3 separate regions of the Homo sapiens genome follow, and all the other regions are linked to region 3. Evidence: promoter capture Hi-C in 16 types of primary human blood cells and fetal thymus (Javierre and others, 2016). All regions are on one chromosome and are shown on one strand. Each heading gives the region's core, a stretch centred on a gene start or on the middle of the fragment in contact. The rest is flanking DNA. Distances are from core to core; before and after follow the strand shown.

Region 1 (4,029 bases), core at 669-3,168, 720 kb before region 3:
ATGAACTTTGTCCCATCTCAGTCAAGCCTGACATTGAAAGACCCACCTTAAACATAGACCCCAGAAACCTCATAAATATCCCCACCTCTGGCTTCCCTGCTATTAAGATTTCATCAAGATCGTAACCTCCACAGCAGCCAACAATATAATCGAGTCAATTTTTAAATTTTTTAATAAAAAAGTATACAGGACAAAAAGGGAAACATGTAATGGATTGATACCTTTAAAACACAATCATGTAAAAAAAAAAAAAAAAAAAAGGCAAGCCAGGCATTGTGGCTCACAGAGGTAATCCCATCACTTTAGGAGGTCGAGATGGAAGAATCACTTGAGCCCAGGAGTTGGAGAACAACCTGGGCAACATAGTGAGACCCCATCTCTAAAAAAAAAAAAAAATAGCTGGGTGTGGTGGTATGCCTCTGTAGTCCCAGCTACTCAGGAGGCTGAGGTGAAAGGATCACTTGAGCCCAGGAGGTCAAGGCTTCAGTGAGCAGTGATTACACCACTGCCTCCAGCCTGGGCAACAAAGCAAGACTCTGTCTCAAAAATAAAAAAAAAGAAGGCAAACACATACGTACATTTGGTCTGTTGCACTAATGAATAGGATTATGGTTTCTATTTTCAAGCCTTCTACAAATTTGTCAAGAACTGTGAAAATCAAACTTCTTCATTCATATTAAACAAATAATATTTTAATTACTTTAATTTTGAAAAGCACAAATAGTTAAGAAAAACACAAATAGTTAAGAAACACAAATAGTTAAGAAAAAACTTAAGCATCAAGGTGAGATTGATTCATAAAAATTCCATGTCAAAGTCAATCTGAGATTGTAATACAGTCCATGTAATTTCTTGAGGATGAATTATAGCAGTTTTCAAACATCTCTGCAGTGAAAAAAAAATTCCCTCAAGTATCCTCACCAGGAAATTCATGATAAATTTCTTCTGCATTTAGTTAAAACTTCTCAAGTTATTCTTTTGCAAAAATCAGAGAAAGTGGCTGAGTGATAGTAAATGTTCATCGTATTTGATCCTTTATTTTAGAATGAATGTCCAGTTCTTGCTGAAAATAACTCAGGCATTCAAAATTGTCTTTTTGATTTCTTCTGGCCATGTAAGGCCTGCATCTTTTGTTGTTTCTCCTGACATTTTTCTTTGAAATGTCCATTTCCTTATATTTTGTTTTTGCAGAGTTAATGGTCTTCTTGAAGTCTATGTACCCATCTGCAGTAAACAATTTCACTGTACACTGTTCTAGGTTGATTCTGGCTGTTTGTTAATATGTTTGTGAAGTCACGTAGAATGACAGAATTAAAGTTACCCAAGCTCTGTTTCTTTGTCTTTACTATCACTGTATTATCACTGATCATTTCAAATGTACACTTTAGACTCAGAAATACATGGTAGAACTGTGCCCAATCTGAGGTCTGATAGTTACAATTTATCATGAACTTACTCCTGAAACAAATGCTTGTAGCTGCATATGTCATAGGCCAACTGCGTAACTGGAAATTCTCCAAATTGACTTCCATGACGTAGAACAGAATGTTTGTGAAAGGATATATAATGAAAACGTGCTAATTGGAAGCATACATAGTTAAAAATGGAAAGAAAGCAAAGTCCTTGTTTAGAACTTAAATGAAAAATGTTCAGGGAGAATTAGTTTATCATTGCTGTTTAGAATCACTGTTTGATGGTGATAATAAAGCACAGGCCACCTTTTAGTTAGTTTTACTATTGTTTTTCAGTTTCCTTCAGGTAATGCCCACCTTAGTGCCTGCACAGGGAGGATGCTCCCATGGGCCTGCCCCCAGTCCCCCACCTCCTGAGGTCGCCCAGGAGGGAGACTCGGGTAAGACTGCAGCCACCCCTGCAGCAGGACTTCTTCCTTGTCCAGACCATCCCGGCCGGGCACGGTGGCTCGTGCCTGTAATCCCAGCACTTTGGGAGGCCGAGGTGGGCAGATCACTTGAGGTCAGAAGTTTCAGACCAGCCTGGCCTGGCCAACATGGTGAAACTGAAATACAAAAATTAGCTGGGCGTGATGGGGACAGCACCAGCCTGTAATCCCAGCTGCTCAGGAGGCTGAGGCACAAAGCTCGCTTGAACCCAGGAAGCAGAGGTTGCAGTGAGCCAAGATTGCGCCACTGCACTCCAGCCTGGGTGACACAGTGAGACTCTCTCAAAAAAAAAAAAGACAATCCCAATTATCTTCACATCTCCACCTCTCAGGCCAGGGGACTATGCCCAATTCAGGAGAATATACTAATTAATCTAAAATTTTGAGTTAATTTCTCCTTGCCTGTAATGGTTTAGGAGTGGGTATTTGTTGAAAATCTAGCCAAAGAAGTTTGAGGGAAGTCTAATTTGGGGGCTTCTAAATCCATCAATGCACTCCAGGCATTGTCTATAGCTAAACAAATAAGGTGTATGTTATATACATACATACATACATATATATGTATAAAACACATATATTGTATAACACATGTATATAGCACATATGTATATATACACACACAAAGATATATATCACCTTGTTTCTTATGTATGTGTATACTATTGAGATTAATAAAAATAAAAATACACGTTCACATAAATGAGGTACTAAATTCATAGAATCTTTTAGTCTTTATGTATTTTTCTCAATCAAAAGATACAAAAAGTACAAATACTATTACATGCAGGTTCATGTCTTACCCTTATGCTTAAAAGGAGTCCTCATTAGTGGACAGCATTCTATTTCTCTCTTTGTCATTAAATAGCCTATCATCGAATTTTTCTATCAACCACTAGAGGGTAGTATAGACCAGAAAAAAAGCCCAAGCATCCAGTTGGCGGCAGCACATTCCTGAGACTAAGTGCTGCAGTGATAAACAGCCATTTGGTTAGAATGACCAGTGTAGGCAAAACAATTTAGGCCCCACTTTATAAAAACTCAAAATAAAAATACCGTTACCGGCCAGGCGCGGTGGCTCACACCTGTAATCCCAGCACTTTGGGAGGCCGAGGCGGTTGGATCACGAGGTCAGGAAATCGAGACCATCCTGGCTAACACGGTGAAACTCCGTCTCTACTAAAAATACAAAAAAAATTACCCGGGCGAGGTGGCGGGCGCCTGTAGTTCCAGCTATTCGGGAGGCTGAAGCAGGAGAATGGCGTGAACCCGGGAGGCGGAGCTTGCAGTGAGCAGAGATTGTGCCACTGCACTCCAGCCTGGGCGACAGAGCCAGACTCCATCTCAAAAAAAAAAAAAAAATACCGTTACCAAATTCCATGAGAAATGTGTATATTTAACTGGTTAGACAAATTTAGACATGAAGTGCTCAGAGTGTAGGACTGGAGTGACTAGGTTTGAATGTTACCTCGACTCTTAACAGCCGTGTGACCATGGGAAAGTGTTTAACCTCTGTTTCAGCATCTGTAAAATAATGGTAATAACAGTATCTATGATCATTCAATTAGAACAGTGACTGCATAGCACATAGTGAGCATGCTCCAAATTTGGGCAGATTTACTTTTCTTGGCCTCAGTTTTCTCATCTGTAAAGTGGAGCTAGCAATATTAGTCCCATGGTTGAAGAGTAAATGCACATAAGCAATTAGCACAATGCTTGACACTTGGTAAAATATATGCTTTTGTTAGTACTATTTTAATATTCTTTTTATAATTACTAATGATATTATTGTTAGACTTGGAATAAAAACTTGGCACTGGTATTTTGTCATTGATTGTTTACCTTAAGGCACATTTGAGAAACAGCGGCCCTATGGGGTGGCTCATGCCTGTAATCCCAGCACTTTGGGAGGCCAGGGCAGTTGGATTACTTGAGGTCAGGAGTTCGAGACCAGCCTGGCCAACTTAGCGAAACCCTATCTCTACTAAAAATACAAAAATTAGCCGAGTGTGGTGGCGTGTGTCTATAATTCCAGCTACTTGGTAGGCTGAGGCAGGAGAATCGCTTGAATCTGGGAGGCGGAGGTTTCTATGAGCTGAGATCGCACCACTGCACTCCAGACTGGGTGACAG
Region 2 (4,068 bases), core at 306-2,805, 560 kb before region 3:
TTCTCCCCCTGTGGGCTAATGAACTCAAGAGCTTGCTCATTTTGGCATGTGTTCTGTTGCATGGTGCCTCCAGGTCACACATGGACAGCACTGTAGTTTGAAATAACTGATAACTCGAGGGACTGTACTGTAGATGTCTCTCAGTGGAGGCAGGTGTTTTTGTTTTTTTCAGGATAGATTTGCAGCATGGGATGCTGCTCTAGGAGTGAAGTGTGTGTGAGCCGTGTGTATGTTTGGCCAAAGCCGATTTATCTTTTCCACCTGTTGAGCAGCTTTGCCTTTGACTCTCACCACTCCCTGGGGGCTGGTCTCTCTTCTTTTCAACTGAAAGGAGGCCTGGTAGACTGACTGCATGGTCAGGCTGGGGATCAAGACTGCCTGGATGCACACTGAGTTGTGTGACCCTGGGCAAGTCACTAGCTTGTCTGTGCCTTTGTGGAATGGAGATTAACAGTACCTTCCTCAGACGGTGGTTGTGAGGATTTAATCAGTATATGCATGGTAAGTGCTTAGAACAGGGCCAGGCATATGGATAGTGGTAAATAAGGGGTGCTGGCTGCACATTAGAATCACCTGGTGGGTGATTCTAATCACCCTGCGTGGGTATTGAGAACTCCAATCCTAATGAAATTAGGGCCTGGGGAGGTTATAACCTTGTTCAGCAAGTGGAGGAGCGTTTTTGATGTCTTATATTCTGGGCATTAAGTGAAAGATCCATCTGTCAGCTACATAAGCAAGAGATCATTCTGTGATGAATAGCTGCCTTTCACAGGCATCTTTGAGGCTGTCTGACCCTTCACTTTGAGGCCAGATCCAGTGCAATTTAAAAATTTTAATTTCCTTAGGTTTATAATACCAAATTTCATTCAGCTGGCATTGATTGAGTGCCTTTTAACACTTTTTGAAAATGTCCTCAAGGTCTCTTTTCATAGTAAAAGCTTATCACGCATACAGTGGCCTCCTCTGAGGGGTTCCTTTTTCATCTGTGATGATGGTTTATTGTGTACTGTGCTTACAGTGGTCTTAGGAACAAGAAAGTTTCCCCCTTAAAAATTATAATGCCTACAGGTGGAAGAGACCTGAAATTATCCAGTCCAGCAGGAAAGGGAACAGTATTCTTGGTGAAATAACAACTTGTCCAGAATCACTTTGTATACATAATGCCTCTACCTGTATTCTGGGAGTTGCGATTGCACATCAGGAAGGTGGGCAGTGTAAGTTGGGGATTGTAGCTCTGTTGTATGACACAAGTGGGAAACAACAGGAAGGAGAAAGGAAAAGAGAATGTAATTCTGAGTGTGGTTGTTGTGGAGCTAACTGTCATAAGGAGGATTGGGACTTGGGTTTCCGGTTGCCCTAAACCTTACACAAAGAAAGACTCTATGGCCCTAGCCACGCCTTCTACTGAGTTATGTGAGAGGAGGAGACCACGATCAGACTGTGGTTCATACTCAAACCCTAGGTGGTTCTCCAGGAGCTTTTTAGCTGCATGGCTACTGGGTCCCTGAGGTGATGCTGGTATCCATAACTGCTACACTTTCATCCTCATGCAAAGCCTCCCTTTCTTTGAGGCGTGTATTCTGTGCTGTCCTGATCACCTCCCTATTCCCCCTACCCTCAGTTCATTGAGGACTTTGGAGGCAGCTATTCAGTGCCTGAGCTTTCAAGTCAGGCCTGGGTTCACATCACAGATTTGCCTTTACTAATCCTGTGGGCTTTATCATTGTCTGGAATTGTTCCACATCCAAATTTTAAAAATTCTTTAAAAAGAACCAGACTCTTTCAACTTCCTCATTCATTTATTCCGACTGTGTTTGTTCTTTGATCTCTTTGAGACACCATACTTTTTCTCTCTGGCTATCCTACCTCTCAGGGCTTCATTCCCTTCCTGACCAGCCTTGATTTCACAGCACACCACTCTGAGCACTCCTGTACTGGCCCCTGCACTGTGAACTCCTGATCATTGATCAGATCCTGCATTCTCTGGACCATCCCTGGATGGTTCTTGGGGCTGAGAGTCAGAGAAGGGAATTGCACAGCATAGCTTATTTATTTATTTATTTATTTATTTTAGCCCAAGTGCTGTTTATTTAAAAGAACAAAAAAGAGTGGAGGCCCCCTAGGGACGGATGAAACAAAACTAGCAGTGCAAGTCTGCCTCTAGCTCAGCATAAAAGCTTGTTGCCCCACTGGGCCATCTTGTTGTTGATAGGCATCTTCAAGAAGCAGTCAGACTGCATGTAGGCAGCAATTTTCTCCAAAGCCTCAACGGCACATGAAAGCCTTAAGATGTGGGAACTCATCCAGGCACTTGGGCTCAAACATGCACTTTTGATCCAGGACGTCATAGATGGGAAAATCCACAAAGGTGAGCTTTCCCCTGCAAACCATGAGAATTTCTCCCAGGAACATGGAGAATTGTTTCAGTTGTTCAGGTAGCTGTTCCAAGTACTGAGGTTTCAGGGTTGGTTTTTATTTATTTTATTTATTTATTTTTTTTTTTGAGATGGAGTCTTGCTCTGTCGCCCAGGCTGGAGTGCAATGGTGCGATCTCGGCTCACTGCAACCTCCGCCTCCCGGGTTCAAGCTATTCTCCTGCCTCAGCCTCCTGAGTAGCTGAGACTACAGGCGCCCGCCACCACGCCCAGCTAACTTTTTGTATTTTCAGTAGAGACGGGGTTTCGCCGTATTAGCCAGGATGGTCTTGATCCCCTGAACTTGTGATCCACGAGAAAAGAGAAGCCTCCCAAAGTGCTGGGATTAGAGGCGTGAGCCACTGCGCCTGGCCAGGTTTCAGTTTTTCATGGTCAGAGTTGTAACAGCACTGTATCAGTTGTGTGCAGAAACTGGTTGCTTGGTTCTCTAAAATGTCCACTTGAATCTTTTCAGTCTTACCACACATGTGCTTGCCAGCAGTGTAGCACAAGATGGCATTGCTCTGGGTGACCTTGTTCTTCCCGTCCATGAAGTTGGGCAGATTAGGAAAGTCCAGGTCTAGCTTGAATATCACATCCAGCCATTGGCTTCAATCATAGGAGTTTCCTGGCATGTGTACCATTTCTCCTCATAGGACATATCCGTGAACTACAGGAGCAGGCAAATGGTGTGTGCCAGCCCGCAAATATTCCACTAACCCAGAACCATAGATGAGTTGCACGATATGATGATGCTACTTGTGAGCCTTTGAGGATAGGAGCAGTTTCATAATCGGGTGTTATGGCCTGGTCTGCAGCCTAGTTTGGATGATCAGAGCTGTTCAGCTGTCCGTTTTATTGTTTTTGGTTTTTCTGAGAATCTCCTTCTGTTGCCCAGGCTGGTCTCAAAGGCCTGGGCTCAAACGATCCTCCCAAAGTGCTGGGATTACAGGCGTGAGCCACCATGCCCAGCCAGCTGTCCTTTTAATCTCTTACTTGCCTTCCTCTCATCTACAGGGCTATCCTGAACCTTCACTGCACCTCTTACCTTGTTTTTACCTTGTAGACAAAATGGAGGCATGAATGTTTTTAGCTTCCTGCTCATGTTTGTCCACATGTTGTCTTCCTCCTCTGTCAGTTGTACTTGCCTTTGTGTCCCTTGTTGTTTGGCACAGGGTAGCAACGTACAGATGTATGTCGAATGAAAACCTGCAATTGCTAACCCAACACTCATTCCTTAATTGGAAAATTAGGTTGTAACCCAATTTCTGCCACTTGCTGGTCCAGGAGAGCCAGGGCAAGTTTCTCCATTGCTCATAGCCTGTAGAAGGATATTAATTTTACTTAAAGTTATTAAAGGATAACAGTCTGTTTTTAGGTACAATAATTCCCTTTGAAAATTATAGATTAAAATTATGTTTCTCCACAACCATTCATTGATGTTGAAATTGGAAAACAAATACTTTGCTGGGGTGGGGAGCAAGGCAGGGTCTGACCATTCAGAGGCCCAAAGCCTGGTGAAGGAAGCAGGTGTATAAACAATTAAAATAAGATGAAGAAGGCTTCGAAGATGAGGTGATTCTGTGGTGTGTTTTGAAGTGGGTGGGCTTATGAAATTCTTTTGCTTTCTCTAATATATCTAAACATCTATGTA
Region 3 (4,033 bases), core at 763-3,262:
AAGCTAATTTTCAAAAAATCCATAAGGGAGAGTGGAGCAAATAAGAAAGGGAATATACTGACTACAGATAACAGTTGAAACCTTTAAATTAAAAAAAAAAGTACACAAAAACCAGATAAATAACAAATGACGCACAAGTTTTTTACCATTTTTTGCATATAATCTTCCACCTGTTACCAAAACATACAATACGCAGACTTCGTATACTGATTTTGAGAGCAAAACACAAAAATAAGCCACACAACTTATCAGTAACCTGTAAGTTACACAATCCTATAAAACAGGAGAAAAATTAAGCAAAAAATTTACTCTTGGGAAAATTTCTCCGTAAAGTTTACATGACGTCACTGGGCCCCCTGAACATTCCCTAAACTTTGAGACTTATCCAGACACACTTCCTAATACTTCTTTCCTTTCCTCAAAAATAAAAAAGAGAGAGACTTGGGAATAAAATTGCCCAAGATGGCGAAACGCTTGTTGTTTAGAGGGCAGGAAAAAAAATGGAGGATATTGTAATATACACAAAGGGATAAATTTCAACAACTCGGCCAAGGACTGCAGCTGCTTCCCTCTTTATAAGGAAGCAACAGACAAAAGATAAATACAGAGGGAGAAAGAAAAGAAGAGAAAATCTCCCAAACAACAGAGCCAGCTCTGACTCTTCAAACACTTCCTTCCCCTTCTCAAATCCCAATTCTGGGGTTCGTGAAACTACTTAAAGGGGAGGGAGCCGCGAAAGAGAACGGGGGCTGGGGGGAGGGGTAGCGACAAGAAGATTAAAAGAGGGAAGCAGAGGAGTTGGGAGCTGGCGGTCGTTCCCGGGGAAGAACTGCTAAAACATGAGACCAAGGCACAGACCTTACTGTATGAGAAGCAATGCTCCTCAAACCTTCTGCGTGCTGACATAGACCTTCCCAGGTATCCAGATCTTTTCCCAATCCCACCTGCCCCACCCCCACCCCCGCTCATCTTCAGTAAACTCAGAGCCTCCAGCTACACACGGGAGAGCTAGAGGCCCAAGCCGGGGAGTGGGGGTGGCAGACGCAGCTCGTCAGTCCGACAGGGAAGAGGGGGCGGAGGCAAAAAAGGGCAGCAGGAGGCGGACGGGGGTGGGGGGTGATCCAGAAACTACCCCGGCAGGGAGTGGGGGAGCAGCGGATATTCCGGGGTAGGAACGGCCATCGCAACGCTGACAGAGGTTGTTTTTTAAGAAGCAAAACTGTTGGCGGCGACCTGAGCGCTGGAAGCCGAAGGGGAAGAGGAAGGAGACGCGAAGCCAGGGCGGCCGGCACAAAGGCGGCGGACTCGCGGCGGCAGCGCCTGCCCGGCCGGGAGCACAACCCACGGCCCTACTCCAGCGAAGTCCCGCACCGGCTTCTAGGAATAAAGTTTACGTTCTCCTGAGGCCGCACCCCCCACCTCCCACCCAGGACGGCACATCTCCGTGTCCTCCTCCCCCAAACTCCACTCGGGACCCCGAGAACCACCCCAGCCTTCCGGCCACCACAACAAAGAGCCGCACCGACCGGCGAGGATAAACAGCGGCGGAGGGCGAGAGGGCGGCGGGGCGAGCGCCTCCACGCAGCAACTCCGGAGTCCCCCGCTTGCCCGAGCGCAGTTTCTCCGCTGCTGTTTCCACCGGCTTTGTAACACTGGGAATTTACATCCTCACCCGCACCCCTCACGCCCGAGGATTTTAAACTCACCTTTACTCTCGAACTGAGAGTTGCGGTAGATGGGATTTTTGCCTTTTCCCCAGATGGTTGAAGGTTAAGATTTTTGGAAACCCCACCACCTCCTTATTTCTATTATTATTTCTGCAAGAAAAGTATAAAGAGAGTTGTAGTGGAGGTGAGATTTGTGATCGGGAAAGCCTTCGACTCCCTCCTTCTCCGTCTTCCGCCTCTCTCTCTCTGATTAGTTCCTATCCAGCAGCAGATTGAAGCAGGAGATGATTCTTCTCAAGGTTTGTTCAGCAGCTTCACTTCTAGGCGAAGGCTTCATGAACCAAGTGACGTCAACCAACAAGGCTTCTCTCTCTCTCCTCTCTCTAACAATGAAAGTTGCTGTTAACAAGGGAAAAAAAGAGAGAGAATTGTTTATACCATTTCAGTTCCAATAATAAATGACCTATCAGCTCCTAAAGGAGCCAAGGGAGGGGGTTGCTTCTTCTTTCCAAGAATACTGTAGCTTTGAGTTTGCACCGTTCCTTGTCCCAGGAAAAAGTTAAGAAACTTAAAATGTTTTGTTTTGCTTTTAAAGAAGACAGGACAGAAAACGGGATTTAAAACTTAGTTTTTAAAAAAACAAAAGCTACAGAGTAGGGAGCATAGGTCAACCATCTCCACCTAAATTTTTTTTGTTCCTAAACTCAGAATTCTACAACCCAACTAAATTAATATGCCAAGATTTTGCGGATGTTAAAACTCAAAAAAAGCAGTATGCAAGACGGTCCCGGGGTAAAATTCTACTGCCTTTCCACGGACAAGTTAAACTGGCTGTAATGTTTATGCACTAAGTTAAAATAAAATTTAAATAAAAGACGTTAAAATAGTCGTTTTAAAGTTATATGCACACACTGTAAAAGGTAATCTCGATAGCTTTTTTTCAAGTTTCTGAGAGATTAGAAAAAAAGCATAGCAAATTGTAGGCACTGAACACTTTTTAAAAATCAAGTTATGAGTAAGACTGGTAGCCCTTTGCTCCTTTAAACTACAAATGCAGTCATATGCTATGGTCTACCCCCAGAATCTCTTCCAACTTTGTTTTTACCCTTCCACTCCCCCAACCCCAATTCCCAAATCCTGCAACCAATCAAGTTAAACTAAAGATACAATAGGCCCCATTCCCTCCCGCACCCCATCCTATAGATTCCTAAAAACAATTTTTTTAAAAGCCTTAATCTTGATAACACTTTATTAGCCAAGAAGATACGTATTTTTTTTTTTAGAAGTTCGTTGAGGTACCGTTTTTTCCCTCCAGAACACAAGAAAGTCTCAAAGTTCATATAATTAAAAATTGCATAATTTAATTTTCAGGATGAAGAGTAAGTAAAAATTAAGCTATCGGAGAATAATTTGATCATCTATGTATATTTTATACATATGTGGATAAATGTATCTTAAAAGATGCTATTGTTTTATGTTTCCTCTTCAGCCACTGGCTGTGATTTTAATTGTGCTGGAGGATCTTCATTAGTATTAACACATGGGGAGATTTCACAAAGCTGCTTCATTAGGAAAAAAAAAAAGCTTGGCAGACTCGGTCTTTTTGCATGCACTGAGAATGTCAGCCTTACCTCGGTCATTTGTAACATAATAAGTGCAAGTACAATGATTGCAATGCAGGAGCACTGGGGGAAGGGCAGAAATACTGCCTGTCTAATAGGGATATCTGAAAAGAAGGCTGCTCATTACAGAGTAAAATGTATGCTAAAAATTAGTGAAGATGATGTCTCAGGAGACTGATGCTAAATAAATTAATGTGCTGATATGTTTTTAATTATTATTTTTGTAGTAGTTTATTTCATTCTCAGGATTCACATTGAGCAGCAAAGCTGTGCTAGCACTTATTGATTTTTTTTCCCTGCCACATTCCCGGAATACAGATTTTAATCATTTCACTACACCACACTCAGTAATTTCATTAAAAACTGGAATCTTCCATCCCCAGAAAAGCATTTAATTTCAATGACATACAATTTCTCTTTTAGCAGCAAACTGTCTCTACAGTAAAAACTGGCCTAAGGTTCAAATGCATAATTTAATCCTGAGTTTTCCATGCTCTGCATTCCTTTCAAGCTATAATTTGAGTAACTACCTAATAACTGTAATAAGGACAATAATTTCCTTATAATATATTATTAACTCATATTTAATTAACTCGGAGGCCAAGCTCTGTACATGTATGACTGGGTCAACAGTTCTATAATCTCAAAATTTACTAATAATGTTCCAGAAGAAAAATATAGATTAAAATATAAGTATGAATGCACTTAGTATCTAAGACTTCTATCCCAAGTCACATACAAAAA

What was found. Contacts are between HindIII fragments. The CHiCAGO score rates a contact against its expected background, and 5 or more counts as called.
Region 1: a contact is called between a fragment that was not itself captured here and the fragment with the promoter of BAZ2B in region 3, in 1 of 17 cell types (erythroblasts). The highest score is 5.6, in erythroblasts.
Region 2: a fragment that was not itself captured here is called in contact with the fragment with the promoter of BAZ2B in region 3 in 1 of 17 cell types (erythroblasts); the score reaches 5.1 in erythroblasts.

Annotation. Positions count from the first base shown.
Region 1 is chr2:158,898,660-158,902,688 of GRCh38, forward strand. No RefSeq gene overlaps it. Among named protein-coding and RNA genes, the nearest start is that of TANC1, 68 kb to the right of the region's middle. The HindIII fragment of the contact is 4,470 bases long and covers 1-4,029 here.
Region 2 is chr2:159,053,827-159,057,894 of GRCh38, forward strand. The region is part of intron 2 of TANC1 (tetratricopeptide repeat, ankyrin repeat and coiled-coil containing 1); the gene reads left to right. It also overlaps the pseudogene GSTM3P2. Among named protein-coding and RNA genes, the nearest start is that of TANC1, 87 kb to the left of the region's middle. The HindIII fragment of the contact is 1,239 bases long and covers 937-2,175 here.
Region 3 is chr2:159,614,536-159,618,568 of GRCh38, forward strand. BAZ2B (bromodomain adjacent to zinc finger domain 2B) reads right to left here and starts at 2,013. Exons shown (of 37, transcript NM_013450.4): 1 at 1,707-2,013. It overlaps BAZ2B-AS1 (BAZ2B antisense RNA 1), which reads left to right and starts at 759. Exons shown (of 2, transcript NR_110588.1): 1 at 759-918; 2 at 1,215-3,507. RefSeq lists enhancers at 1-492, 1,549-2,075, 1,703-1,782, 2,033-2,102. The HindIII fragment of the contact is 3,593 bases long and covers 1-3,249 here.